Regions from separate parts of the Homo sapiens genome. Here regions 1, 2, 4 and 5 are each linked to region 3. The links are contacts of gene promoters, found by promoter capture Hi-C in blood cells and fetal thymus (Javierre and others, 2016). All regions are on one chromosome and are shown on one strand. Each heading gives the region's core, a stretch centred on a gene start or on the middle of the fragment in contact. The rest is flanking DNA. Distances are from core to core; before and after follow the strand shown. Region 1 overlaps FBF1 (Fas binding factor 1). Region 2 overlaps ACOX1 (acyl-CoA oxidase 1). Region 3 holds the start of SPHK1 (sphingosine kinase 1). Region 4 overlaps FBF1 (Fas binding factor 1). Region 5 has its middle 7.2 kb from the start of EVPL.

The links. Contacts are between HindIII fragments. The CHiCAGO score rates a contact against its expected background, and 5 or more counts as called.
Region 1: a fragment that was not itself captured here is called in contact with the fragment with the promoter of SPHK1 in region 3 in 4 of 17 cell types (naive CD4 T cells, erythroblasts, activated CD4 T cells and 1 more); the score reaches 6.1 in naive CD4 T cells.
Region 2: a contact is called between a fragment that was not itself captured here and the fragment with the promoter of SPHK1 in region 3, in 1 of 17 cell types (non-activated CD4 T cells). The highest score is 5.5, in non-activated CD4 T cells.
Region 4: a contact is called between a fragment that was not itself captured here and the fragment with the promoter of SPHK1 in region 3, in 3 of 17 cell types (activated CD4 T cells, naive CD8 T cells and total CD4 T cells). The highest score is 5.8, in activated CD4 T cells.
Region 5: a contact is called between a fragment that was not itself captured here and the fragment with the promoter of SPHK1 in region 3, in 2 of 17 cell types (total CD4 T cells and activated CD4 T cells). The highest score is 5.6, in total CD4 T cells.

The regions. Positions count from the first base shown.
Region 1 is chr17:75,909,045-75,911,870 of GRCh38, reverse strand. It overlaps FBF1 (Fas binding factor 1), which reads left to right. Exons shown (of 30, transcript NM_001319193.2): 30 at 1,065-2,297. The coding sequence ends at 1,148. Among named protein-coding and RNA genes, the nearest start is that of MRPL38, 5.6 kb to the right of the region's middle. RefSeq lists a silencer at 848-1,008. The HindIII fragment of the contact is 1,248 bases long and covers 755-2,002 here.
Region 2 is chr17:75,961,084-75,963,783 of GRCh38, reverse strand. All of the region lies in intron 2 of ACOX1 (acyl-CoA oxidase 1), which reads left to right. Among named protein-coding and RNA genes, the nearest start is that of ACOX1, 17 kb to the left of the region's middle. The HindIII fragment of the contact is 6,369 bases long and covers 1-2,700 here.
Region 3 is chr17:76,383,131-76,385,858 of GRCh38, reverse strand. It overlaps SPHK1 (sphingosine kinase 1), which reads right to left and starts at 1,250. Exons shown (of 6, transcript NM_001142601.2): 1 at 1,053-1,250; 2 at 205-408. The coding sequence starts at 214. RefSeq lists silencers at 883-1,582, 2,163-2,302, 2,323-2,612. The HindIII fragment of the contact is 9,575 bases long and covers 1-2,728 here.
Region 4 is chr17:75,927,819-75,930,518 of GRCh38, reverse strand. FBF1 (Fas binding factor 1) reads left to right here. Exons shown (of 30, transcript NM_001319193.2): 7 at 472-522; 8 at 2,326-2,443. Among named protein-coding and RNA genes, the nearest start is that of FBF1, 12 kb to the left of the region's middle. The HindIII fragment of the contact is 1,427 bases long and covers 597-2,023 here.
Region 5 is chr17:76,033,129-76,035,828 of GRCh38, reverse strand. No RefSeq gene overlaps it. Among named protein-coding and RNA genes, the nearest start is that of EVPL, 7.2 kb to the right of the region's middle. RefSeq lists an enhancer at 1,227-1,834. The HindIII fragment of the contact is 7,176 bases long and covers 1-2,700 here.

The DNA.
Region 1 (2,826 bases), core at 129-2,628, 470 kb after region 3:
AGACCAGCCTGGGCAATATGTTGAGACACCGTCTCTACAAAATGAAAAACTAAAAAAAGAGGACCAGGTGCGTGGCTCACACCTGTAATCCCAGCACTTTGGGAGGCTATGGTGGGAGGATTACTTGAGCCCAGGAGTTCGTGGCCAGCTTGGGCAACATAGTGAGACCTCGTCTCCACAAAAAAATAGCTGAGCGTGGTGGCATACACCTGTACTCCCAGCTACTCCGGAGGCTGAGGTAAGAGGATCACTTAAGCCCGGGAGGTCGAGGCTGCAGTGAGCCACAACGGTGCCACTGCACTCCAGGCAACAGAGCGAGACTCTGTCTCAAAAAAATAAATATTAAAAATTTAAAAATTAGCTGGGCATGGTGGGGCATATCTATAGTCCCAGCTACTTGGGAGGCTGAGGTGGGAGGATTGCTTGAGCCCAGCTGGTCGAGGCTACAGGTGTGTTCACACCACTGCACTTCAGCTTGGGTGACAGAGCAAGGCACTTGTCTCAAACTAAACAAAACAAAACTATAATGATAACAGTTGTCATTATGGAGCATTTCCTGTGTGCCAACCTCAATGCCGAAGGCTTTGTTTATATTTTACTTATTTATTTATATTTAGAAATGGGGTCTCACGATGTTGCCTCGGCTGGTCTCAAAGTCCTGGGCTCAAGTGATCCTACCCCCTTGGCCTGCGGATTAGCTAGGATTACAGGCATGAGCCACTGTGCCTGGCCTGCTTTGTGTATTTTTTAAGCTTTTACCCTCACACAGCCCTGCAAGGAAGGGCTACAAGGAATGTTTACAGACAAGGAAACTGAGGCTTAGAGACATGAAGTCATGTGCTCGTAAGTTCCACAGCAAACAAGTAACCTTGCCAGGATTGAGACTGTGGTCTGTCTCACTCCATACCTGGGCTCTTTCATGGCCCCTGCTGACTCCCAGAGCCAGGCAGAGTCAGGGACGATGTGGGGAGGGGCCTCAGTGACGGCTGGCTCAGCTAGCATCCAGGGCTCCACCTCCCTCTCAGCTCAGGGAAGGTGACCGCCCATCCAAACCTGCCTTGCAGGACCGTGACTTCTTGGAGAATGAACAGTTCTTCCTGGAGACCCTGAAGAAAGGGTCCTACAATTTGACATCTCATTCAGCCTGAGTGGGACCCCAGCCGATTCCCCAACAGAGGGTTCGGACCCCAGAACTGTCCTGTTCCTCCGGCTGCCTCCATGGAGGCAGTGCCTGGGGAGGATTCTGAGATGCTTGAGGCCTGATGACAGCTCTTCCGTGGACAGGGTGCAAGTGCATCCTTTCCAAATGTGCCAGCCCGGGGCAGCCCCTGCCTCTGGGGCTCTGTGGTGTAGGCTATCTTACCATGGCTTTGGCTGCCCTGCCCCAAAGCCATTGGCTTGGATCTGAGGGTCTGAGTTGGCAGCAAGGACCCCCAGCTCTCACTGGGCTCTGTGGGCTCCCCCTGGGCTCTGTGGGCTCCCCCTGCTCCACAGGTAGACTGTTGTGGGCTCTTTTTGCCTGGGCCTCTTCTGAGGCAGGAGCTTTCTTGAGGGATGCCACAAACAGCCTTCCCTACTCCCTGCCAGAGCAGTTCCCTCCCTGATGAGCTGGAGAAGGGCCCTCTGGCCTCCTGACAGTACAGGGAGGGCACCAGCTAGATCCTCCCTTGTGGTGTGAGATGTTCCTGGAACTCAGCCAGGCCCTCCTCCTCCTGGGCTTGCCCAGAGCCCCCACCCTATTCCCAGCATTGCCCGAAGGACCAACCAGTTTGGGTGAACAGTGGCCTCCTCAGCTTCCTCCCCATCTGGGTGCCCCACCGGCGGCGGAGGGAGCTGTGGCGATGGTGGGGTGTGGGGAGGGACGAGGAGGGAAGCCTCTGTGCTGCTCACCTGCCCAAAGCCCAGCTCAGCGGGTACGCAGTGGAGGCGACAAGGAACCAATCACAACTACAGAGGTTTCTCTGATCCTCCTCCACTCCCGCTGCTTCAACTTGACTAAGCTTAAAAAAACTGCTTTTGCCATGGCTCATCGGAGTTTATACTTATTTCTTAGAAAATGTTTCCTGTTATTTGCTGGACAAGTCCCAAAGAACAGGCAGATGTTCTTATTAAAAGATCAGCCTATAAGATTGGTCAGGACCAGGCGCCTCTGGCCACGTGCCTCTCCCCTCCAGCACCTGCGGTCTGCGGTGGCACCTGGCAGCTGGACCACAGCCAGGAGAAGGGTACTATTAGCCCTGCTTCAAACATGCAGAAACTGAGGCCCGGGGAGATTAAATAACCTGCCTGAAATGACAGTGAGTAGCTGCGCCTGGATTTGAGTTCTGCTCTGGCCAATCCCCAAGCTCCACGCTGTCAGCCACCCCGCTCTCCTACCTCCCAGAGGAGCAGGCTACACTCCTGGTAGGTGCTGGTGTGGGAGGAAGATCTTTTCAGGCGCTTCTGGGGCTGGTACCAACACTGAGGAGGGAAGTATCACATGCCCCATTGGAAGCCTTGGTTAAGTCTCAAATTTGATTCTCCACAAAAGAGACTCAACCAGTCCTGAGGCAGACCTGTGCAAAGAGCTGGGGGGGTCTAAGGATGGGCACGTCGGCCCAGGGGCAGCTGGTATCTAGGCAGCCACCTGCAGGACCTGCAGGTGATCAAGCACATACATCGGGGAGGGCGGTGCTGGGAGACCCACAGGGGGAGAGCATGGCCTTCAAGACAGAGTAGGGAGAAGAGGTTAGAATGAGAGGGCTTTGCATATCTTGTTAAAGACGTGCAACTTTTCAGGGCAAATTTGTCTGAGGGCAAATTTTCAGGTCTTCACTAGAAGATTTT
Region 2 (2,700 bases), core at 161-2,660, 420 kb after region 3:
CCATTTTTGAGGCTTCTAAGGACAGCCCTGGCTTTTTCAGCATGTCTTTTTAGCATCTTCATTACAGTCACAGTCTTTTTTTTTTTTTAGATAGAGTCTTGCTCTGTTGCCAGGCTGGAGTTCAGTGGCACGATCTCCGTTCACTGCAGCCTCCGCCTCCCGGGTTCAAGGATTCTTCTACCCCAGCCTCCCGAGTAGCTGGGATTAGAGGCTGGCGCTGCCACACCTGGCTAATTTTTGTATTTTTAGTAGAGAGGGGTTTCACCTTGTTGGCCAGGATGGTCTCGATCTCCTGATCTCATGATCCGCCCACCTTGGCCTCCCAAAGTGCTGGGATTACAGGTGTGAGCCACCGCGCCCGGCCTGCAGTCACAGTCTTTAGTCCATGCTATGCTTGTGCAGTAATTTCCCCAGCTAGGAGACAGGACGAGGTGACAAGGTGGTTCTTTTTTTAAAAAATAGGTTTAGGGGGTACAAGTGCCATTTCCTTACATGTATATATTATGTAATGGTGAAGTCTGGGATTTTGCAGTACCCATTGCCCAAATAGTGAACATAGTACCCAGTAGGTAACTTTTCAGGCCTCATACCCCTCCCATCCTTCCACATTCTGGAGCCTCCAGTGTCTGTTTTGTTCGTTGTTGTTTTTTGTTTTTCGAGACAGAGTCTCTGTCGCCCAGGCTGGAGTGCAGTGGTGCCATCGTGGCTCACTGCAACCTTTGCCTCCTGGGTTCAAGTGATTCTCCTGCCTCAGCCTCCCAAGTAGCTGGGATTACAGGTACCCACCACCACGCCCAGCTAGTTTTTGTATTTTTAGTAGAGATGGGGTTTCACCCTGTTGACCAGGCTGGTCTTGAACTCCAACCTCAGGTGATCCCCCTGCCTCGGCCTCCCAAAGTGCTGGGATTACAGGCGTGAGCCACCGCGCCTGGCCCCTGTGTCTGTTACTCCATTCTGCATGTCCATGTTTTACCCCTTGCTCAGCTCCCATGGTGACGAGATTCTTGTCCTTGTTTTGCCATTTTCTTTTTTCCCTGAGCAAGGCATTTAATTCATCTCAGCCTTAATTTCTCCTCTGTAAAATGAGGGATTCAGTCACACATACTTTGATTTTTCTTTTTCTAAAGTGTGATTGCTTAGCTGAAAGCCTAGCCACTAGATTGGAAGAAGTCATTGATTAGCACTTGTCTGAGCAGTGTGCCCTGGTTCTTTTCCTCCCTACCTTGCAAGGAACAAACAGCAATTTAAAAACTGAACTGTCATTTATGCTCATTTCAAAGACACATAGAATGATAAGAGCAATATGGAGTTGACGGATTTGGAGCTGGCAATTACACAGAATACCAGTAATGTGGAAAAATGCAAAGGCCTATAGAACGACTTCCTATCCCTAGCAAAAATTCACACAGAATCCTGTCCCCTGCACGTTTTAAGTGGAAAAGAATGACCCCAGAAAGTTGATTTAAAACTAATAAAGCTGTTTATTATCATTAATGATAATTTCTGTATAATTGTCACGGAGAGCTTATGCATGAATCTGTAACTTGTCGTTATTATGGTCTTCACTAGAAATTGCATGTCTTTTTTAATTTCTGAAATAAATTATTGGGATGAAGAGCACTGTCAGTTTTTGTATTAAAGTGTTTCAGTAGAGCGTGGCCGAATATTTGACATGATGAATCTGAATGAAATGATCAGAGCTATGTGAGGAATATGGTTCTACGCTGGATGTTTTGTGGACAAAACAGAAAAAAAATCCCAGCCTAGAAGCATTATTGAAATTGCATCGAGGAAAAACTATAATCTGGGGGTCATACTGTCACTCTGAGAGAACTACTATGTTCTGTCTCGCTTTCTCATCAGAGGAAATCCTTGTACCAGTACCACTCAAATTCTCTGTTCTCCGACTCCTGGCTTCAAGCGATTCTGCCTCAGCATCCCAAGTAGCTGGGATTACAGGCACATGCCACCACACCCAGCAAATTCTCCATTCTATACAACTTTTTTTTTTTTTTTTTTTTTTTGAGACAGAGTCTCGCTCTGTTGCCCAGGCTGGAGTGCAGTGGTGTGATCTCGGCTCACTGCAACCACCGCCTCCCAGGTTCTCCTGCCTCAGTCTCCCAAGTAGCTTGGATTACAGGCATGTGCCACCACACCTGGCTGATTTTGTATATTTAGTAGAGATGGGGTCTCACCATGTTGGTCAGGCTGGTCTTGAACTCCTGACCTCAGGTGATCCGCCCACCTTGGCCTCTCAAAGTGCTGGGATTACAGGCATGAGCCACGGTGCCCGGCCTTTTTTTTTTTTTTTTTTTTTTGTATTTTTAGTAGAAACGGGATTTCACTATGTTGGCCAGGCTGGTCTCAAACTCCTGACCTCAAGTGATCCGCCTGCGTCAGCCTCCCAAAGTGCTAGGATTACAGGCATGAGCCACCATGCCTGGCCCTATACAACTTTTCAAATTCTCTCTCTCTTTTTTTTTTTTTTTTTGAGATGGAGTCTCACTGTGTCGCCCAGGCTAGAATGCAGTGGTGTTATCTTAGCTCACTGCAACCTCTGCCTCCTGGGTTGGAGCAATTCTCCTGCCTCAGCCTCCTGAGTAGCTGGGATTACAGGTGTGCACCACCATGCCTGCTTAATTTTTGTATTTTTAGTAGAGACAGGGTTTCGCCATGTTGGCCAGGCTGGTCTTGAACTCC
Region 3 (2,728 bases), core at 1-2,500:
CGGCCTTTGCTGGGAGACCTGGGGTGGGGACGCGGCGCCCCTGCCACCCCCTTCCTTGGCTCAGATTCGGCCGGCTTCTGGCCTCGTGAGGGATAATGTTTCTCCCGATCGTCCACAGCCCCTTTCGTCCAGCTGGGCGTTCCATCATTCCTGGCGAGGAACAGGAATCCCCCTACAGCCCTTCCCAGCAGGAACCCCACAAACCTGGATCCATAACCTCGACCCGCGGCTCCCGCTGCCAGGGGGTCCCTGGCGCTGTGGGGGCGCTGCCCGTGGCGGCGGCTCCTGCCTTCAGCTCCTTATCGGTGCTGCCCAGGCGGGCGTCGCAGGGCCGGCTGTGGGGCTCGCCTTCCCCGCCCGGAGCCGTGGCTGCAGGAGCACCGGCGTCATTCCCTGCGGCGGCTGGACCTGAGGGAGAGAAGACAGCGCTGGCGGAGTCCGGGGCCGCAGCTGCCAGAGGTGGGGAGCGCCCGACTAAATCCCGGGACCACGCGCGGGGAGCCAGGTTCCCGGGAAGTCCAGAGAGCTGAGGTCCGGTGCCTCCGAGGGCGCCCCCGCCGTGTGACTAAGCCTACAATCCCTGAGAAGGGCGCCTGCTCCGGGGCTTTCTCCCTGGGGCTTGGGGTTCGGTTCCGGCCCGACGGATGAGTCAGAGCCCCGTGGCTCCCTCCGACGGACTAGCTCCTCACCCCTCGGGGCTGCCAGGGGGAGGGGAGTCCAGCTGCGTAAAAATCCCAGAACTTGAGCGGACATTGCTGGGCACGAAGTTCTGGGAGAGGATCCCTGCCCCAGCCATCCAGGTTGCCGTGTCCCCTGCCCGGAGCTCCAGAGCGGTGGGAGCCGCGGCGCGCGCTTCTCAGGGCCCCGCTCCGTTGCGACGCGCGCGGCGCTCGTGGGAGCCGCTCCCGGGTCGCGCCAAAGCCAAGCCCGAACCGGGCCACCAGCTGCCGCCTGCTCTCGCCCAAGCGACAAGTGGCCCAGTTCCCGGGGCCCCGCGAGGGCGGGCCGCACAGGAGCCACGAGCGGCGCGAAGGCAGGGTGGGCGGCCCTACCCAGTCGGTCCGGTTTGCTGGGGAGGCGCCACCGCCGTTCCCTACAGTGGCCTGGGGCGGAACGCAGCTCGTCCCAAGCTCAGCCCACGTCTGAGGGACTGGAGCGCCCCGCTGGAGCGGACTCCCCGGCCTCGCTCCCTCCGGCCTCAAACTTTTCGCTCAACTTCGCAGCCGGCGCCGCGGAGCGGGGAGGGCACTGAGCCTCGGCGCCGGCCTGGCTCCGCCCCGCGCTCCCGGGGGTGGAACCTGAGCCCGGCGCGGCCTCGGCCTCTGCCCGCCTCCGGCCTCAGCGCGCCGCCTCCGGCACGGCCCGCGCCCACGGCCGGGCCACGAGCTGGTTCCCGCCCGGGTCCTAGGAAGCGGCAAGCGCGCCCCCGCCGCTCGTCCTAGGCGTCTGGCTAGAAGGCGGCGCCGCGACCTGGCCGGGTGAGCTGAGGCGGCAGGCCGCGAGGCGCGGAGTCCCGGGCCCGGCCGCGAGCGCAGTGTCTGGGGCGCGCGAAAGCGACCGCGCAGCGCAGACGGAGGCGCGGGCTCCGCGCGAACTCGTGTCGGAGCGAGCGCCGGGCGCGCGCGGCTCCGCTCTCCCGGGGGACCCTTGGTTTCACCTCGACGCCACGACCTCGCCCCCGCGGGTGCTGTCGGCGCCGGGATGCAGCGCCCCTTTTGCGCGCTCTGCCCTAGCCCACCCGAAATTCGAGGCCCGCACGCCACCCGGGGCGCCTCTCCAGGCCGGGGCGTCTCGCCCGCCGCCCACCAGCTTCCCTCTTTCTTCCTCCCCCGCGCTCCCACGGAGGTTATTTTTAACTTCCCGACGCTGCAGCTGGGCTACCGAGCCTGAGGCCGCCTAGCGCGCTGTCCCGGGTAGAGCAGGCGACAGGCCGGGGGCTCCGAGCCGGAGAGGAGGCTTGACAGTGTAGATGGGCCTGGGGGCCCCCGTCGGGATTGGAAAGCCAAGCATGTGGTACGTGCCCCCCGCCCCCTCTGGCTCAGCGTGAAGAAGGGGCGCCGGAAACGCGCTCAGAAGTTGTCACTTCTTTGGAGGCCAGTAGGGACGCGTTTGTCAGTGTGTTTGTGATACACTTATCGCGGCAAGCCACAGAACGTGTCCGCGAGCACCTCGAGTTAGATCCCTGGGGGGTTACGGCGGAGACGGAGGAAGAAGTTGCCAAGGCCCATTGGTGACCTGCCCAGGTAGGGCCAGAGTTAGGAGAAACCAAGCCCCTGCGGGAGGCTGCGGGGCTCGCGCGCCCCCGCCGGCCCCACCCGCCCCCACACACCTCTCTCATCGCTTCTTAAAGTCGAGAAGAGGCAGGTCCAGGAGGAGCACGCAGCCAATTAGCCGGGCGGCGCCCTGAACTCCGGCACGCCTCCGCGGTGTCTTCTCTTCCGGAGGACCCAGGCAGCTCGGCCCCGTTTCCCAACACTTGGGGGGTCAGACGGGCGGGACCCGAGAGTCCCCGGGCGGGTCGGGGGGCACTGGCTGGGACGCGGGGTCCCTGGGGCCGCAGCTCCGCGCGCGTATCGGCGGGTGCGCCTTCGCCTTGCGCGGCCCCCGGGCAGTCCCCGCTGGGTCCAGAGCGTCCCGAGCGCGTTCCGGGAAGGTGACTCAGCGACGCGCTCAGGGGTCGAAAAACTCCGAGAAACAGGAACGAGGGGAGGGAGCAGGGGCGTCATCC
Region 4 (2,700 bases), core at 61-2,560, 460 kb after region 3:
CAAAGTGCTGGGATTACAGGCGTGAGCCACTGTAAATAATGCCCAAGGGCTGCCGAGTGGACCCAAAGCAGAATCCTCTTTCCTGTAGTAAGATGAGTGGAAAGGAGAGCTCCCTGAAACTGCTAGAGTCTTAGATGTTGCTCCTTTCCCCTTATAAACTCCATAGCTGTCCATTGGCATGGGTGGGAAGTAGCAGAATTTCAGTCCTGGATGGAAGAGTTCTCTATGGTTGGAAGGAGTAGGAATGGCAGTGCTCTCTGAGTCTCTAAAACCAGGCAGGTTTGGCTTCAAACAACTGCCAAGCCCAAGCAAGGGGAACAAAGCCACCCTCCTGTGTAAGCTCCATTGGCCAAGCTCTGCTCCTGCCGCGCCGTCTGCCCTAACAGAAGCAAGGGGCCAGGACCCTGAGTTTTATTGGGCCTTGACTAATGTGCCTCCTCATCTGTGTCCTCACCCTCATTGTGGACTTAGGTTTCAGGTATCTCAGAGGCAGACCCACAGGCTCTGCTCCAGGCCATGAAGGTAAGGAAACAGCTTGCACGATTCTTAGAACTGGGGGTGGGTGGGGTGGGGTCATGATATTTTGTACCAAAGCTTCATTCTCCTTCTAATTTCTCCCTTTACAACCTGTGTTTCTGAGCCCTTCCTCGTGCAAGCATGGAACTCGTCTGTGAGCCGTTGGCCTCCTTGCCTTTCTGAGTATCAACCAGTGTTCCTGGTATATAGAGAGTGGAGAGTGCCACAGGCCTCTGGGGAAACGGGGCCAGCTCTACTCGGAGGCCCACCTAGCTGGGTCCCCTCACCTCCACCTAGAAGACAGAGGGGGAGACTCTTTCCTCTAATGCTTGTTCTTAATCTTTCTCCATATTTCTCTCCACATCCCCTGCCAAGCCCCCTTCAATACTGCTGTCTTCTCATCAGATCAAGCCCAGCGCCAATCTTTGCAATGGATTTTTAAGGCACAGATTCTGAATAATTTGTAAGGACATAATCTCTAGCTTGGCCTAAGACACCTTGTTCTCCCTCTCCTTCCAGCCAGCAGCACCTTCCTGTCTGACCCTTGGGGTTTTGTGTCCCTTTTAGTTAACCCATTTTGCCACAGTCCCTAGGACAAAGCCGCGTTTTTGGTTACAGCCCTGTGGGGCTCTTGTTTTTGTTGTGTATTTTTGTTTTTTGGGTTTTTTTTTAGAGACACCATCGCATTCTATCACCCAGGCTGGAGTGCAGTGGTGTGATCTCATTGCAACCTTAAACTCCTGGCCTTAAGCGATTCTCTTACCTTGGCCTCCCAAAATACTGTAATTACAGGCATGAGGCACCACACCCGGTCCAGATTCAGCTTCTTTAATCTCATCTTGAAATCTTTCTCCTCAAAGGCCAGGCACCTGTAATCCCAGAACTTTGGGAGGCCGAGGCAGTAGGCTCGCTTGAGCCTAGGAGTTGGAGGCTGCAATGAGCTATGATCACACCACTGCACTACAGCCTGGGTGGTGACAGAGTGAGACTCTGTCTTCAAAAAAAAAAAAAAAGTCTGGCATGGTGGCTTACTCCTGTAATGCCAGCACTTTGGGAGGCCATGGCAGGTGGATCACTTGAGCTCAGAAGTTGGAGGCTGCAATGAGCTATGATCGCACCACTTCACTCCAGCCTGGGTGACAGAGTGAGACTCTGTCTTTATTTTATTTTATTTTTAATTTATTTTTATTTTTTTGAGACGGAGTCTTGCTCTGTTGCCTAGGCTGGAGTGCAGTGGCATGATCTCGGCTCACTGCAACCTCCACCTCCCAGGTTCAAGCGATTCTCCTACCTCAGCCTCCCAAGTAGCTGGGATTACAGGCGTGCACCACCACACCCAACTAATTTTTGTATTTTTTGTAGAGACAGGGTTTCATCATGTTGGCCAGGATGGTCTCGATTTCTTGACCTGGTGATCCACCTGCCTCGGCCCAAAGTGCTGGGATTCTAGGCATGAGCCACCGCGCCCGGCCAATATCCTGTCTAAAAAAAGAAAAAAAAGAAAGCTTTTTTCCCGAGACCAGCCACCTAGGATCCCTGGGCATAACCCACAAGTCCTCTGACTCAATTTTTGGTGCTGACTTTGAGTCTCTCATCCCAGAACCATGAGCTGGACTCCATTCCACCTCCCCCTGCTTACCTTTAGTTCCATTTTCTTTCTTCACTCACTGTTTTTCTCAACAGTTTTCTCATTTTCCTTTGTTTTCTCACAATTCTACACCTGGGGTGCCAACAGCCCATCTCTCTCAGGTGGAAGTCCTCAGCCCCTTATCAGACATAGTCCTCTGCCCTCCCTCCCTGGTTTTCTAGGACCTGGACGGCATGGATGCTGATATCTTAGGTCTGAAGAAATCTAATTCAGCCCCTAGCAAAAAAGCTGCAAAGGACCCTGGGAAAGGAGAGCTGCCCAACCACCCCAAGCCTGCAGGTGGGTCAGTAGCCAGTGAGAAAGGTGCATGGGAGACGGCTCCTCGCATCTGCTAGGGAGACTTTGAGGACGTGGAAGATGCTAGTAGGAAGCGTTCATGTCCTTGGGTTTTCTCTGCACAGGATGGAGAGGCCAAGGAGCATTTGTGCGTGTGTGTGTTTGAGTGTGTGTGGTGGGGTAAGGGGACAGCTTGAGTTTCCTCCCTTCCTCGAGCTGTTCCAGGCCCTCTGGGTCCAACATGGGCAGCTCCTGGAGAA
Region 5 (2,700 bases), core at 173-2,672, 350 kb after region 3:
GTTGGTCTCAAACTCCTGACCTCATGATCTACCCGCCTCAGCCTCCCAAAGTGCTGGGATTACAGGCATGAGCCACCGCACCTGGGCTTTTCTTTTTTTGAGATGGAGTCTGACACTGTCGCCCGGGCTGGAGAGCAGTGGTGTGATCTTGGCTGACTGCAACCTCCGCCTCCCATTCAAGCGATTCTCCTGCCTCAGCCTTCCGAGTAGCTGGGATTACAGACATGCGCCACCACGCCTAGCTAATTTTTTGTATTTTTAGTAGAGATGGGGTTTTACTCTATTGGCCAGGTTGGTCTCAAATGCCTGACCTCGTGATCCACCCGCCTCAGCCTCCCAAGGTGCTGGGATTACAGGCGTCAGCCACCACGCCTGGCCTATGTGATCATAGTTTCTATTCTCTGTTCCAGGCAAGCCCCACCAGGCCTGCTGGGTGAGGGTCAGGAGCACGAGGTGGCTGAGGATGGCACTGGCCTTTGCTGCTGGGTCTCCTGGCCTGTTCCTCTCTTCCCGAATGTTGTTTGGATTTGCTGTCTCCTCTCTGGTTTTACATTAAATCAGTGAGAACTCTTGGATTCCCTCTTTGAAATGAAACGGTGCTGGGCTTGGTTCCGACCCCTTCCCCTGGTGGCAACCTGAGCCTGTCACCACAAGCACAAGGTGACAGCCTGTGATGACAGGCCATCCTCAACCCATAGCGGCTCTGGGCCAGAGCCAGGACTTTCCTCCCAAAAGCTGAGGCAGAGGCTTCACCCCCTCTAGGAGAGGAAGGCCAACGCCAGGGGCTTTGAGGGTGGGACTGTGCTCTGTTCACTGTCATCGCTGTGGCAGCGCTAATTTTTCACATACGAGGTGTCGTTAGTCACACACAAAAAAGCCAACTGATCACAGAATTCTAAACAGCACAATTCTGTCTGCAGCCTTGAAAAGCCTGGGACATTTAGAGGTCTAGGAAAATATCCAAAGATAGCAAAAATATGTGTTGGTTCTAATTTTTTGTTTGAAGACAGTTGTTGCTACAGAGGAGATGGAAAGCAGATTTAGCTGTAAAATTTATCGATGTTCCAAAGCAAAGAGAATAAATTGGAAATTGCCTGCATCCTGACAACACCAACTGGAAGAATCCAACCTGTTATTCTGTTAGATGTTAGAGACACTTGGGAGGAGGACCTGGGAGGGGCTGTGGCTGGGGGCACCGCCCAGGGCCAGCTGGGGTGGCAGGCTGTGCGGGTTGCACACAGTAGATAGGCCCTGGCCTCTGGGTCCACCCTCTGCTCTGAGCACCATCTGGCACAGAGTGAGGGGCTCTACAAGCATCCAGTAGAAGTATTATTATTATTATTATTCCAAGATGAGGTTTCACTCTTGTTGCCCACACTGGAGTGCAATGGCACGATCTCAGCTTACTGCAACCTCTGCCTCCCGGGTTCAAGTGATTCTCCTGCCTCAGCCTCCTGAGTAGCTGGGATTACAGGCATGTGCCACCATGCTCAGCTAATTTTTGTATTTTTAGTAGAGACGAGGTTTCACCAAGTTGGATAGGCTGGTCTCGAACTCCTGACCTCAGGTGATCCGCAGCTTCGGCCCCCCAAAGTGCTTCCCCAGGGATCTTCTGACCTAGCAATCCAGCTATGACGGGCAGGTACCTGGGCCAGTGAAAGCTGAGTAACGTTAGCTGCGGCTCATCTGTGGAATGGAGACAGACGTGGCTGTGCAAAGGCCTCACCAGGCAGTGCCTCCCATGCTGCCTAAGAAGAGGTGTGAGGCAGAGAGAGCAGGTGCCCAGGGTCCTCCGAGCTCCTGGATCCCTGCCCCACACTGACTAGTCCATTGCCTCTGAGCACACTCCAGCTCCTGTACAACAGGGGCGGCTGCGTCTCAAAGTTGCTGGGAGGAGACAGTGAGGAGGTTCCCCCAAAATGTTCTGAGCCCAGACCCCAAGACAGTGTGGGCTGCTGTACCCTGAGTCGATGGGTACACATAGCTGAGAGAGCCTTCCACTCAGCCAGCCTGCGTCCTTGTCTTCCCCTTCCCAGGAAGTCCTCCTAAGTCTATGCAATGCCATTCAGACAATAGTTTGGGTCTGACTAGCTGCTGTCTGTGCTGGGTGGTTTAACCTCCCCTTTCCAGCTTCCTGACAATAGAGACAAATCAGGCAGCTATGAGAACTTCTTGTTCCTTCGTTTTCATGTTTGTCTGTTTTATAAACCTTTTTCTCCCTCTGAACAGTGAACAGTGCCAGATGCCACCAGACCCCTGCTGCTGTGGTGCAGCCGGTGGGACATTTTCTCAAGCGGCAACGCAGGTCATTATCTTGGCATGGACAGTTAGCTGGCTGCCTCCGTCACATCCGCACTTCTCCAAAATAGGGCTGCAGGTCCCCGGACCTAGCTAGTAAGGACAGCTATTATCTTAAAGGTGGCAGAGAGGCCCAGAGCCCTTGGGCCTACCAGTTCCTGAGTAAGACTGGCTGGGCTGCAGACTTCTGGAATGCAGGGATGGCTCATGCACGAGATGGCTGCAGGGGCTGGGGAGTGGGCTGCACCAGCATCAGTCCTACAGCTGAACTGGGGCTGGTGCTGTGGGTCCCCTTTCTCCCAGGGAAAGGGGATGGTTCAGAGGGAGGGACAGATACCCTAAGGCAGCCTTGGTTTTGAGGATTCCAGGGGTTCCCTCTATGTTCTCTTTCTTGCCATTTAG